Regions from separate parts of the Homo sapiens genome. Here region 2 is linked to region 1. Evidence: promoter capture Hi-C in 16 types of primary human blood cells and fetal thymus (Javierre and others, 2016). All regions are on one chromosome and are shown on one strand. Each heading gives the region's core, a stretch centred on a gene start or on the middle of the fragment in contact. The rest is flanking DNA. Distances are from core to core; before and after follow the strand shown.

Region 1 (2,700 bases), core at 85-2,584:
CAGGGCGGAAAACGGTGCACACCATTCACAGAACTGGAGAACTCCAAGGGGCGAAAGTTAAAGGGAAAGATCCCGGGTCCTCAATCCAGATAGTCTCTTCTTATACAGATATCTCTAATGACCAGATTTGAGATGCACATCAAATTGTGTAGGTATCTCAGTACAGCTTCTGGAACAAAGTTCTCTGCCCTTTCTCTTATTGTTATTTTTTTCTTTTTAGGTACCAGAGCCAGAAAAAAAAATGCTGCATGGGAGCTGCATCTTAGGGCATGTGTATTAGGGTGTGTGCATGATGAATTTCTGGACTGGATCCCAATATTAAAAAGTAGTTTGGCATTTTAATAAAGGGTCTCTAAGTAAATTAAAATAGAACACTCGGTTGGCCGATCTCTGAATCTCTCTACACCTCGGGGAGACCTCACTACAAAGTAAGGGAGAGTGTGTAGGGAGGCAGGAGGAGAAACGAGAAAGGCCATAGAGAAACTTAGCAGGGAAGGGAGAGCATGATATTAAACGGCATGGGGTCTAAGTTTTGGAGTATATATTTTTTGATATTACAATTAAAGTAAGATTAAAAAGAAAAGACTCCACCTTTGCTCTGAAGGGATTGGTTATGCAAATATGGAAGGGATTTCCTGGAGAATACAGCTTTCTACTGTATGGTTAATTAAATAATCACTCAAAAGCTTCCAACGTGACGCTTCTGTCGTAATCCAATCAGGTTACATAGGTCCTAAACAAGAAAGATATTTTCCACATCTGGAAGTCAGCAATTTAGCAAGTACTGCACATTATTAACCAATTCAGAGCCCACTTCCCAGGGGAATTTTTTTGAAGTTTAAGTGTTCTTAACCAATGCTCTGCTGTTTTGTTAATCAAAAAGCTGGTTTACACTGCACATAATTGGAACTAATATAGAAGTAAATAAAGACAGCCAAATTTGAGGATGCTGAGCACAGGCATTTATCGGAAAAGGAAGAAATCTCCTATCCTCGGATGGTTCAGGCTCAATTTCTTAAATAACTGTGAGACTTTTTTTTTTTTCCTAAAGAGTGAAAGTGCTTGAGAACCTCAGAGCACAAATAAACTTCTAGCCTCACAGCATTTAGGATTCTTCGGAAAGGTAAAGGTGGAGGTGTTAAGAGGACCAGAGAGCTGCCTCACACCAATTTTTAAGCTTTAATATTGTTAAATATGTTACACCCTCCTGTTTCCAGTCTGATGAAATCTGAAACAAATAATACCCTGATCCAACACTATATTAAGATAAACTGCTTTGAACTGTGCTTTGAATGTGTGCCTAAAGCAAGACTTTGAATGCAAGAGTCACTGGCAATTGCACTCAAAGGAGGGACAAGCCACCACATGGGTTGCCACATCCACACTCCCAGAGGTATACGTCTTTGTATTTTGTATTTTTTTTTGCGGGGCGGGGGAGTGGGGTGGGGGTGGTTAATAGCTACCTAGCACGACCACAGCTAGATCTTGTTCTAGGATGCAAGAAAGTAGATTTTCACAGTTGGTTACTCACCTCTTTCCTAATTTAAGTATTTATTATAATGAAAATAGCTGCTGGATAAATTAACTCTCTCCCCCCACCCCATCACAGATAAAGTGTCTATAGAAGAAAGGCATTCAGGATCTTCAGCTTAAAAATTATTAATAAATAAAATCAAAGATTTTCAACATGGGTCAGGCACATTCTTAATTTTATATTTTACATTTCTTTCATTATTATATATCTATACTAAATATATGTGTGACTTATCAAGTTCCTCTTCTGAGATTTAGCACCACTGTTCATGTCCATTTTTCTTCCTCTTCCTTTTTTTCCTCTTTTTTAATTTAAAAGATTGGAATCCAGCTTTCTCTAGACGTTTGCTTTACAGCCACCCTTCCACCACTCCTAAGGAAGAAGGAGCCCTTTGCATAGAGTTATTACAGGCAAGACTCCTCTTCAGGCACCCAGGTAGCCATTGGAGGCTTACAGACCAGACACACACACAAGCATAACCTCAGGTCAAAGGATCCAATCGAATAGCTAACAAAACACTTGTCTTTATTATGTATATTAAATGTCAGGTTACTTAGGATCTGACTTAAAAAAAAAAAAAAAAACCCTAAGTATTTCCATTAAAAACACCTAATCATCTGATTACCCTGGACTCAGGAATTGCTCAAGTGGCAGGAGGCAGTCCCCAACATTTATCACTGGGAGTTCCGACTAGCCAGTATTTGATTTGGGGTGAAAAAGCAGTCTTCCAGGTTCCCATGAAGGTAGATATTTGGATGGTGGCACGGGAAGGGTCTCCGCGAGGGGTGAGCGCTGCGGCTAGGTTGCCTTGCCCCTGGTTCCTGACTGGCACGCCCCTCCCCAGGCATTTGGCCGAGAGAGTTCCCAACGTGGCAGAGGTGATGGGGTCGGGAGGAAGCCGGAATATAAATTTGTTCCGAACACTCCCTCAGTCCGAGGGCCAGTTCGGGGACAATGGGGATCGTGGGATCAGGAGGATGCAGGAGCACAGGACGCAGAGAAAAGTCGAGAGAGGACTGGGGGCTGCTGGCTTTCGGCTCCTCACACAGCAAAATAAGTCCTGCAAATGAATCTCTCCTTCTCTGTCTTCCCCATTAATAATCCACTTCGAGATTAGCGCAGACGAAAGAGATTAAAACAACAGATACACGGAAATGTGAAATAAT
Region 2 (2,700 bases), core at 150-2,649, 530 kb after region 1:
TGTTGGTGGCTTGGTGGGGGCGGGCCAATAAATTAAGCTCAGCTGGGACCCTCTTCCTTCCCATGTGGTCTCAGGGCCTTTCCAGGTGGTATCTTCAGCAGGGTATTCAACCTTACCATATGGCAGCTCATGGCTCAAAAAGGGGTATTACAAGGAGACTGGGTGAGCTCTAAGGGGCTTCTTATGACCTAGCCTCAGCCTCAGAAGTAGTTGAATTTACTTGCATTTGATTCAGTAAGCAAACACTAGGGTCAGCCCTGATTTAAGTGGAGAGGAATTATACTTGAAAGAGAAGTCTAGAAAATAATTTGTGGCTATCTTTAATCTACACCTTCCATCTTCTGGCCATGAATTGTTTACTTTCTCTAACATATAAAATACTTTCATCTCCTCCCAAAGTCTGCAAAAGTTTCATTCTCTTATGGCATCAGCTGGTAGTCCAGAATTTTGTCAATTAAATCAGGACCATGTACTCTCTGCACTCTTGCTTCCCCCTGCCACAATATGCAGGGTTGGGATAGAGATAGAGTTATTACAACAAATAATCCAGTTGTATAAGGTTCACAGCAATTTCTGAAATCCAGCATGGTTTGGGGCTTGTTGACTCCCTAAAAATGATTCTCCATGAGTCTTGGCTATACCCTCTGGGTTCCTGATTCTTCCCTTTGAGTTATCCTTTCTTTTCCAATAGAAATTACCAATATTTACATCTACATGTTAATAGCTTTCTCAACCAGCTCTGTAGCTGTAGAAGTTTTGAGGTTCAAAGCCCTCTTATTTTGTACAATTTCTGTCCATTTTAGTCTAACCCAATGTAATTAATTTAAAAAGTTTTTGATTTTTTTTCTTTTTTAATTTTTTTGAAACAGGGTCTTGCCATATTGCCCAGGCTGGTCTTGAACTTGTGGCCTCAAGCAATTCTCCCACCTCAGCTTCTTGAGTAGCTGGGATTACAGGCCTCAGCTCCTGTTCCTGGCTCAGTTTTTGGTTTCTTAGTTATCACTGAATAATATACTCCTTTAGAGAAAAGCCATGTCTACAAATCTCTTTGAGATTAACCCTTTATCTTAGGCTCCCTATGAGACTGCTGAGTGAAAACACCCTAAAACCTCTTAGAAACTTCACTGTCTACTGATGAACGTTTTCTTAGTATGACCCCTTCTGTAGCCCATGCTTTCCTCAGAACCTAATCCACTACATCAGTGCTTTTACATTCATTCCCATGCTCTGTAGTGTCCTCATGGCCACTATCACCAAAGAATACATAGTTCCTATATAGAAGGTGTACATTTTTTTTCTGGCACTTGCTAAGTTTCCCTACCACTAGCTATAACCCCCAACATGCCACCCCATTTTTCATAGTCTACTGCTGCTTCTGTTGCCTCTTTCCGCAGGGATTTCTGAAAGGCTTTGTCAGCCTCAGCTGCTTTAATCAACACTTACACAATTTGAAATTTATCTTGCTATTTCCCTGGAAATGGAGTTCACGAATTTTGTTGTTGCTGTTTTCCTTACTGCGTAGAGTCCAAGAGAGGAGAGAAGACTCAGATCTAACCTGCTACCATCTTACTACCAGAATTAAAATGAAATTATTTTAATATTCTTATATATTTTTTAAAATGATCCCTCTTAGGGATGTGTGTCAGAATGATAAGGGGTAAAAAAGAACATTTTGAAACAGCCGATTTGATATTACCTTAATTTGTATGAACACAATTTATTGAGGCCACTTGGGTATCACAATTTTTATTAACAAGTAATATGTCAAATGAGACACCCCATCGTTCATTTCAGTAATGAGTTCAGATGGGGGTGAGAGTTAGAGATAAGATGAGAAAGTATATTGCATATATTAATGAGTAAAGTGGAAAGGAGGAAAAGGAGATTGGCTAAGAGGAGGGGAACAATGTCTAACAGCTAGTTTATAAGAAGTGACAAAATGAACTGAAGTCAAAGCAACTAAATGGAGAAGGCTGTCTGAATGGACTTCTCAATGAATATGACATTAATGTCGGAGGAAAAGTCCACAGTGTATTTACACTGAAAGAAGCATGCATGTATTATAAAATCCAACATAAAAGTTAAATGAAGTTTTAAGTCAAAATAAAAGATTCTATCTGGAATTCTCTTCAACCTGATCACATAGCTGGCTCTCATCATTCAATTCTCAGGTTAAATGTCACCTGTTGAGGAAAGACTCTGAATTCCCAACCCAAAGTACTCCCTAAATCTCCACCTCATTAGCCCATTTTATTCATAATAGCACATTTCACTCCGTTTTCAGTTTATTTACTTTTCATTTTTATGATCCTTTGTTCCATTCATCCCAATCAATTATCAGCTCCATTACAATGATATCTTCCAGATCTTTTCAACGCTATTTTCTCTACATCTGGACAGATCCTGGTGCCTAGTAGGACCACAATAACATTTTGTTTGTGAATAATAGAGACGGCATGGAAATTTCAGCCTGTCAACAGCATGCCACAGGGGTTTCCACTTGCAGGGATCTAGTCCTTCTTTTCTGCTCTTAGGCATACTTAGATGCAGGTGGGAGTTTGTTCCAACAAATTGGTTATTTATAATATATAAGAAGCTAAAGACTGTATCATTTTTCTGTTGCATTGGATCATCTCATCAGCACTCATTAATTTTGAGTTTGTAAGGTATGTATTTTGTTTCCAGTGTGGTCTAGTCATA

What was found. Contacts are between HindIII fragments. The CHiCAGO score rates a contact against its expected background, and 5 or more counts as called.
Region 2: a fragment that was not itself captured here is called in contact with the fragment with the promoter of LINC01412 in region 1 in 1 of 17 cell types (neutrophils); the score reaches 5.1 in neutrophils.

Annotation. Positions count from the first base shown.
Region 1 is chr2:144,520,534-144,523,233 of GRCh38, forward strand. LINC01412 (long intergenic non-protein coding RNA 1412) reads left to right here and starts at 1,335. Exons shown (of 3, transcript NR_110570.1): 1 at 1,335-1,393. It overlaps ZEB2-AS1 (ZEB2 antisense RNA 1), which reads left to right. Exons shown (of 4, transcript NR_040248.2): 4 at 221-366. The HindIII fragment of the contact is 4,746 bases long and covers 1,176-2,700 here.
Region 2 is chr2:145,052,930-145,055,629 of GRCh38, forward strand. All of the region lies in intron 3 of TEX41 (testis expressed 41), which reads left to right. All of the region lies in intron 3 of LOC100505498 (a long non-coding RNA gene), which reads left to right. Among named protein-coding and RNA genes, the nearest start is that of LINC01966, 170 kb to the left of the region's middle. The HindIII fragment of the contact is 4,878 bases long and covers 1-2,700 here.